2 separate regions of the Homo sapiens genome follow, and region 1 is linked to region 2. Evidence: promoter capture Hi-C in 16 types of primary human blood cells and fetal thymus (Javierre and others, 2016). All regions are on one chromosome and are shown on one strand. Each heading gives the region's core, a stretch centred on a gene start or on the middle of the fragment in contact. The rest is flanking DNA. Distances are from core to core; before and after follow the strand shown.

Region 1 (4,481 bases), core at 1,700-4,199, about 59 Mb before region 2:
ATTTTCATCATACCCTGCTATCATTACCCTGCTGTATTTTCTTCAGTGCATTACTCACTCTCTGAAATCCTTATTTGCTTGTTTTCCATCCTTTCCACTAGAATACATTTATGAGAATAAGGACCTTGTCTGACCTGTTTTCTGCTGTATCCCTAGTGCTCAACAGTGCCTGGAATGTGGCAGATGTTCTGAAAATATCTGATGAATGAACAATACTCTGACAGGCTTTGTAGCAGATGCTACATGTTGGGGAAGGGGAGAATGTTTAAAAAGCAAAACACGGGATACCTACTTTCAAGGGCCTGCACTTGTATTATGGAATAATATTAATAATTATACAGTGGTCTAACATTAAAATAGAATTCAGAGATCTCCACCTTCTACTTTCACCATTCTTAGTTTCAAGGGTAAGGCAGAATGGTTTTGAATGGCAAACATTTGCATAAAGAATTTTCTCTTGTTATCTTAGTCTGTTATTTTTTATTTTTTTTTTGAGGCAGGGTCTCGCTCTGTTGCCCGGGCTGGAGTGCAGTGGTGCCATCTCAGCTCTCTGCAGCTCCGCCTCCCGTGTTCACGCCATTCTCCTGCCTCAGCCTCCCAAGTAGCTGGGACTACAGGTGCCCGCCACCACGTCCGGCTAATTTTTTTGTATTTTTAGTAGAGACAGGGTTTCACCGTGTTAGCCAGGATGACCTCGATCTCCTGAACTTGTGATCCACCTGCCTCGGCCTCCCGAAGTGGTCTGTTATCTCTTAATGATAGCTTTAGAAGTCTATTTTCCTCATCTACTTCCTACCAGCCCTTGGTGTCCAATGGGCTAGTGGGAATCAGCTCTACCATTACCTATAATCAGGCAACTCACTTCTTTAAAGTATAGATAAGTTCATTATTCATTCATTCGTTCATTGAGTAAAAAGTTACTAAAGGCCTGCCAGGCACCATACTAAGTGAACACAGCAGGGAACAAAATGGCATCTCTTAGCTCATGAAACTAACATTCTAGTGATGGTGAAGGGAAAGAAACAACAACAAAAAAGATACTGGAAATCACTGAAAGGCAAAGCATGGAACAAGGCTGCCAGACAGAACACTAGTACATTTCCTTTTGGTTCAGTCGTGATGGAAGAGAAGATTTGAAAAGAGACTGGAGAAAACGTTTGTTCATTCACGCAACAAAATAGTTATTGTGCACCTTCTATGAGACAGGTAATCTGTTATGCAGCGCAGACGATCAGGAACAAAATAGACAAGGAGCTTCTTCATGAGCACATAATATTCCAGTGAGAGAGAAAGATGGCAAAATAGATTTTTAAAAAATCAGTGATGAGTGCTGTATGGAGAAATAAAACAGATTAATGTGACTGGCACTTTAGACTGGGGGGAAGATAAATCAAGGAAGAACTCTAAGGAGGAAACACTTAACCTAAGCCCGAATGATGAGAAGTAACTAACTAGCCTTTCAAAGTTTGGGCAGAGAATATTCCAGTCACAAGGAACAACTAGTGCAACATATCCTAAGGCAGTAAAGAGCAAGGAATATTCAAAAGACAGTAGGAGAATGGTTGGGAGATGAGAGGGAAGCCAGGAGTCAGGTCATATAGAACTTAGGCTACTGTGTGGAGACTCAAGAGTGGAAGCAGGGAGACCAGAGAAGAGGCTATTGTAATGTTGACCTAGACTAGGGTGGTAATAGTAGAAAACACTGTTAGCTTTATGGCGCAAAGTTTCCCTTTGGGTCACACTTGTTCTGTGATATTATCTGATTCCCATGGAGCAGGGTGGGGTAGGGGTGTCATTTTGCCAGTAAAGGCCCCCAAAGCATAGGGTGCTGTAGGGTGTGTCTGAGCATGCCTGACAACCAATCAGCCACACCTACACCATTTTTTTTTTTTTTGAGACAGAGTTTTGCTCTTGTTGCCCAGGCTGGAGTGTCATGGCATGATGACGGCTTACTGCAACCTCCACCTCCCAGGTTCAAGCAATTCTCCTGCCTCAGCCTCCCGAGTAGCTGGGATTACAGGCACCCGCCACCACGCCCAGCTAATTTTTGTATTTTTAGTAGAGACAGGGTTTCACCATGTTGGCCAGGCTGGTCTCCAACTCCTGACCTCAGGTGATCTACCTGCCTCAGCCTCCCAAAGTGCCGGGATTACAAGCATGAGCCACCGCACCCAGCCCACACTTTTTTTTTTTTTTTTGAGACGGAGTATTTGCTCTGTCGCCCAGGCTGGAGTGCAGTGGCGTGATCTTGGCTCACCGCAACCTCCGCCTCCTGGGTTCAAGCAATTCTCCTGTCTAAGCCTCCCGAGGAGCTGGGACTACAGGTGTCCACCACCACGCCCAGCTAATTTTTGTATTTTTAGTAGGGACGGGGTTTCACCTTGTTGGTCAGGCTGGTCTCAAACTCCTGACCTCAGGTGATCTACCCGCCTCAGCCTCCCAAAGTGCTGGGATTACAGGCGTGAGCCACTAAGCCCGGCCTACACTTTTAAATTCTTGAAACTTTGCCTTGAATGAGCTGCAAGTGCCAAATCCACGACAGGGAACGCTTGAAAATAGGAGACTTCAACCACTGGAGACAACTACTTCTTGGTTTCACTTCCCCACAATGAGTACAAAACCTGAAAATGAAATGACTGGCTCTCTCGCAACACTAAGCTTGCCCATCTCCTAGAGGAAGTTAAAAGCTGCTCGTGGGTGAAGACAGGTGCAAGAGGAGGGGACTGGGACTGCGGTGTTGCATTCAGCCACCATTTCCAACCGTCCATTTACTCAGGCCAGGATCCCTAATTCTGCAAAAATGGAAGGGGGGAAAGGCGGAGGTAGTGGCAAATTCTTCCATGCCTTGACCCAATTTTACTGATTTTGTTGCCAACCCCAAGATGTTTCCTACAACAGCTATCCCCAACCTTTTTGGCACCAAGAACTGGTTTCATGGAAGACAACTTTTCCACGGGGTTGGGTGGTTTCGACATGAACCTGTTTCGCCTCAGATCATCAGGCATTAGATTCTGATAAGAAGCACACAACCTGGATCCCTCACATGCGTAGTTCACAATAAAGGTCGTGCTCCTATGAGAATGTAATGCCGCAGCTGATGTAACAGGAGGCGGAGCTCAGGCTGTAGTGCTAGCTCGCCTGCCGCTCACCTCCTGCTGTGCGGCCCGGTTTCTAACAGGCCACCGACGGGCCTGGTGGTTGGGGACCCCTGCTTTACAGGGTGGCTGAACTGAAGCTTATTCTTCACGCTTGCACTATTCAAGATGTATGATATCTGATCATTGTTTGCACACTGCAAAGCAGGCTGCAATCCAACCCTGGGAAGAGGGGCGCGGACACGCAGGCTAACGCGCCTGCATTTCCCCCCGCCAACCCCTCCCAGCTTCCACAGCCGGGAGCCCGGTGGCGTCGACCTCGCACCGCCCTCCGGTTCTCCCACTTGGGACTCGAGGGTTGGATCTCGCCAGGCACCGCCCTCTCCCCACAGGTGAAGGGAAGGGGCACCCAGTTCCCTCGGCTGCATCTTTGCAAGGGTGGATGCAAGTATAAATGCTGCAAAAGCAAGGGTGCGCCGGGGCCCTGAAGCGTGCATGCCCGGTGGTCATAACATTCTCCGCTCAGAGTCCACTAGGCCTGTAGGACGCCGGGAAGCTCTGGGACCGTTGCTACAGACCACCTCCCGTCAGCTCCCGGAATCCAGCGTCTCCCCACGGGCGCGCGCTCTTCCGGGCGCCCCGGCGGCACCTGCGCGCGACGTCCCCCGCCCCGGTTACCTTGTAGAAAGTGACCGTATCCAGGGGAAGGGCGCCCTTGGTGTGCAGGCCGCTGCCGCCATGCGGAGCGGAGAGGAGCAGGAAGCCCAGGAGAAGGGGAAGCAGCGGGGAGAGAAATGCGGCGCGGGGCACAGCGGCAGCCATATCGCCGGGTTCCTGCAGAGGGAGGTAGGTAAGCGATAGTGGAGAACGCCCCGAGTCAGCGGTCACGTGACTGGGGGGGCGGACTCACGCGCGCTCACGTGGACACCCCAGGAGGCTCCCATCTGTCTAGGGTGAGAGGGTGGGGCCACGTGAGGGGCGGGGCGAGGGAGGGGAAGCTGCTGCGCACGCGTACTCGGCGAAGCTCGCGTAGGGCCTGGGTAAAAGGGCGGGGCCACGTTGCGGGCGGGAAAATGGGCTCCTGCGCGCGCGCACTCGCCGAGTCTTCCGGCGGGTCCGCCCAGTTCCGTTCCTGCTCCGCTTGAGGAGAAGCGCCAAGTGCGCATGGGGACGCTATAGCAATTCGTTTGCTGTCCTTCCTCTCCTTCGAAGATGACAAGGCCTACCATCGTTTCTTCCTGCCTTTGGGCCGTCAGGCAGTTGGTTGGGACCCGCTCCAACCCTCGGTCAGTCTATTAGTCAAGTTCAGCCGTTATTCTCAGTCAGGCTCCGTCACCACCCTGACCCAGGCGGGCAGTGGCTCCGCGGCTTCCCTGAGCTTTTTGG
Region 2 (4,339 bases), core at 965-3,464:
CCAGTGCAGTCTGGGAACCGGGCCAACCCCAAACTATTTAGAGCTGGAGGCAGCAGCCACTGCCCCGGTGCACGCCGGGAACCACTGCCCACTGCCCCAGTGCTTGCCGGGAACAACCCTCAGGCCAGGTGCATGCTGGGGCCGCGCCGCTACTCCCTCCGCACGGCCCCACGCTTTTCGCCCTGAAGGAATCGGTACGAGACGGCTCACCTAGGCAGCCCGCAGCCCGTGGTAGTGCCGGAGCCTTGCTCCTCTTCACTCATTCCCTCCTCCGTCCCCGCGGGCGCCACCGTGACTGCAGCCTCCACGCGCCCCAATACACAGCCGACGAGCTAGGGCCGGGGCCAAGCCCGGAGTCGCGGCCGGTAGGGCCCGCCGCGGGGCACGCTGGGATATGGAGTCCCCCGCCCACCCTACTTCGTGAGCCTCCATCTGGAGGGGAGCTATCCGCCCCACAACCCTCTGCGTGCGTGGCTCGCCCGGGCAGGCTGCACCGCCTTCTGGGAGGAGCGGGCCCTCCGCCGTCGCTTCTCGAGAAGGCCGTATTTTTTTGTTTGTAATACCGTCCCGCCTCCTTCCTTCCGCGCCCCCTCTCTCCCGGTCCGTGAAGCTGTGGACATGCGTACTAGCGGAGGGGAAGCCGCTGGGTAGGGAGGCGGTAAGGACTCACTTGGGCACGGAGCCTTTTGGATCGCGAGAAAACTACAGAACCCAAGAGCCCGCGCGCCATCTGTGTCGCAGCTGGAGAGGCAGGGTCAAGCACGCACGAGAAGCTTCATGGCGTCATTGGTTACTCCCATTGCGATTACTTCCCCTAGGTGCACTGAGATTGGTTACTTCGACTAAAGGGGCGGAGACAAGGAAAAGTCAGCCCCCCCCGACCCCGCCTCCTTGATGAAGGAAGGTTGTGATTGGTCCGGAGAGGCTGCCGTCGGATCCTGGCTCTTTGCGGTCTGGGAGGGTGGGCCTTACCTAGACGCCGGAGGGGACCGATCTCTGTTTCCGCAGGGCTCTGGAGCTGGTGCAGGTTTAAGTCCGTCTCAGACAGTCCCCTCAACCCACAGCCTAAGCCCCTTGCCCTTGGGCCTCCGTGACACAGAACTTGCTTCCTTTTCCTAGGTCGTCCTTCACCTCCCTTCAGGTGTTGCTTCTTTTGTGAAACCTTTTTAGAACCGCTCTAGTGAACCTCTCTTTAACTGGCGAGGAAACCTCTGGGGCCTGATAATCAGGCTGTAATGTGGGACGACAGGATTAGAAGGACTAGGCACCTTGGTGGTCTTGTTCCCTCTTCCATGAGTCTTGGGTCTCTCAGCTGAAGAGAGCAAAAGTGAATTTTGGCCGCCTAAGATTAATCAACTGATCTGGGTGTTGAGCAGACGCGCATTGTTTAGTCCTAGAGCCCCATTGCCTCCTCCCCCAAAGTTGCACAACCACTGGGCTGAGGGAAATCTTGTGACCTTGGAGAGAGAAAGGGAGAGACCACATTAAAAAAAAAAAAGGTTCTAATGAGTGTTCTGAGAAGGGGTCAAGAAAGATGTCTTACTCTGAGCCGGGGTTGGAGGTCCAGAGGAATCTTGAAATGATAATGAGGGGTCATCCAGGAACACTGGAGGAGGATGGGGCCTAGAGCCGAGTGAATTCCAAGTGGGTGAAATTGGAGTGAGTGGTGACAATCAAGGGAAGGAGAGCTGGCAAGATCGGTATGATAGGGGGAGCAATGCCAGAGCGCTAGGGATCCCAACTGAGGGGCTGCTCTCTCCGATGTAGAAAGGAGTCTATAAGACGGGTCATAGGGGGTTCCTGTGGAATCAGCCTGAGGCCTGAGGTGGGACCTCCATAGGACACCGCCAGCAGGGAGGCGCGGGGCCCAGGCGGGCCAGGTACGAGCCTGGAGCGCGCCGGATGGCAGCAGCGGGCTCCTTTAAGAGGCCGGCGGCTCCATCGCAGCATCCCCCGCTCAGGGCGTGTCCGTCCCGGGGGGCCAGGGGCGGGGGCCCTGGAAGGAGCGGGAGTTCAAGCCGAGCAGGGACGGGGCTAGGGGTCGGGGGGTGGGGGCAGAAAGCTGAAGCTGACACCCGTGCATCCGGACACCGCACGAGCATCGCCTGTGACAGCGCCCCGGGTCCGGTGGAGGGCAGCGGGGGGAGGAGGGAAGGAGGAGGAGAAGGAGGAGGAGGCGGGAGCAGCATCCGGAGCGGAGCTGCAGCAGCGCCGCCTTTTGTGCTGCGGCCGCGGAGCCCCCGAGGTGAGAGCCTGGCCGAGTTGTGGGGGGGTGGGGGGCAGGGATGGGTCTGGGTCCTGGGATCCGGGCGTGGAGGGAGGGTCGGGATGCAGATGTGGCCTGGTGCGGGGTGATGGCGTGGGGATGCTGAGGCTGTGGGGATGGAGGAACTGGGGACCTGGACCCGACGCCTGTGGGGCTGGGAAGGAAGGGAATGGAGCGGAGGGATGCCGCGGCCCAGCTTGGAGACGAAGGGCCTCCAGAGCTGGAAAGGACCGTATTGGGGTGGGGTGGAGGATGATTGGGGGACAGACTTAAAGGACAGAGGGCAAGAGAACATCTCCTCCCACTCATCCTCAGGAAGAGAGAGAGGGAAGGAGGAGGGAGAGTTTTGGCCCCCTCTAGGGAAGGAAAGGAAGGGCAAGGACTGATATACCCACCATCTCCACACACACACACACACACACACACACACACACACACACACACACACACACACACACACACACACACACACACACACACACACACACACACACACAGCAGGCTGGACCTGAAGATTAGTCAGAGAGCACCTGTTCCTGCATGCCCAGGCGTTGGTCCCCCTCCCCTTCAAGCTGTGATCCTCCTAATCCCCTCCAGCTGTGGCATTCACCTCCAGCTGTGGCATTCACCTCCATCCAGCTGTTGCATCCTCCCCTCCCCCATTCACGTGTGGGTTTCTCCCTCCTCTTTCTCTCCATCTCCTCTGGCTCCCCTAACCCATCTCCCCCAGTCAGGCCCTCCAAAAACCTCCTCCCTTTCCCACAAACACTCCTCAAACTCATTGGCTTAAAAATAAACAAGAGTTGAGACTTGCTGGTAACCAAGGCCTTGACTGAGAGGAGGGAAGAGTCAAGGCTCTGTAGACAGTGGGAGGAAACAGTGAGGTGTCCCTTAGAATTAAGGGAGGAGTCCTACCTTGTAGATGCTCATCTGCTGCCTTTTTCAGAGGAGCGTAGGTGAGTGGCCTCCAATCAGAAGGGAGTGCACATGAGGTCTCCTCACCCCACCCAGAGTCGTCTCAAGCCACAGTCAGTGCATCCCTCTAAACACATTTCCCTTGCAGTTCTCAAGGTGGACTCCATTGCTCTAGGAGCTCTGAGTTTCAGCCAGAGGGTCCTACCAAGCTAAGGCTAACAGAAAGGATTTAGGAAGGATAGGACTCAAGTGCCCCCTGAGCCTTCCTGTCCAGACACTGAAGTTTCTCTGAGCTTTAGGGCCCCACTCCCTCCTATCTCACACTTACAGGTGAAAAAAAGTGTGTCCCCTCAAGCGTATCATTCATCCACTCACTCCCATTGTCAACTGGGGTAATGTTAGGAAAACCCCAGCTCTCAACATGGAGACACCAGCTAAATATCCATCCCAGTTATGGACAGAGGAGGCAAGAAGTTAGACATGGCTCAGGATTTCCTAGGCTTCCTTATAGCTGAAGAGGGCAGAACCCTTCTAAAAACCAATTGCTTTTCCCCTCGTGGTGACACTGTGGTAGGATCAGGCTTTTCTAGGAAGAGGACTCTTGGTTCTACCACTCACAGCCCGGACTCTCGTAATGCACAGTCCTCCCTCTCCCCTGCCTGGATCTGGAGAGAAAGAAGGAATCAACCCTGTAAGAAGTCCTTGCTAGGGTGGACTGGAGATCACCCCTACATTCAGGTCCTCAGCCCTACACCAGTCAAGCCCTGGGACCCCCAGCTGCCATGCTTCTTCCAGTGAGGTGGAAATGTCTGCCCCTCACGCCAGCCACTCATGCATTCACTCACACTGTTGACTGAGGTGATGCTGGGAAGAAGGAGGATACTGTTGAGATGATGCCAGCAGGGGACATAGGGGCTTCATGAGGGCCTGGCCACAGAGACTGGTCTGTCTGGTTCATTGGCTCCCAGAAGGACTGGGGTCATATGTGTGCGTGGAGAAGGTGAGGAGACTGTGACAGTGACCAGATTCCAGAGGAGGCTAAAGATCATTCAGGATAGAGCCCTTGCCCTTTGGTTTCTTCATTCTTTGGTCTTTTTTTTCCCTCTTGTTTCTCCACCTCCCTTTCCACCCATACCCTCCCTACTGGCACTTGCTTTG

What was found. Contacts are between HindIII fragments. The CHiCAGO score rates a contact against its expected background, and 5 or more counts as called.
Region 1: a fragment that was not itself captured here is called in contact with the fragment with the promoter of MAP3K12 in region 2 in 1 of 17 cell types (total B cells); the score reaches 5.3 in total B cells.

What each region holds. Positions count from the first base shown.
Region 1 is chr12:112,012,902-112,017,382 of GRCh38, reverse strand. It overlaps ERP29 (endoplasmic reticulum protein 29), which reads right to left and starts at 3,957. Exons shown (of 3, transcript NM_006817.4): 1 at 3,774-3,957. The coding sequence starts at 3,917. It overlaps TMEM116 (transmembrane protein 116), which reads left to right and starts at 4,218. Exons shown (of 11, transcript NM_001193531.2): 1 at 4,218-4,381. RefSeq lists enhancers at 2,484-2,623, 4,294-4,481, 4,354-4,481 and silencers at 3,624-3,713, 4,054-4,133. The HindIII fragment of the contact is 577 bases long and covers 2,661-3,237 here.
Region 2 is chr12:53,497,333-53,501,671 of GRCh38, reverse strand. MAP3K12 (mitogen-activated protein kinase kinase kinase 12) reads left to right here and starts at 2,214. Exons shown (of 14, transcript NM_001193511.2): 1 at 2,214-2,245. TARBP2 (TARBP2 subunit of RISC loading complex) reads right to left here and starts at 389. Exons shown (of 9, transcript NM_134323.2): 1 at 211-389. The coding sequence starts at 263. RefSeq lists an enhancer at 455-754 and a silencer at 1,848-2,097. The HindIII fragment of the contact is 6,087 bases long and covers 776-4,339 here.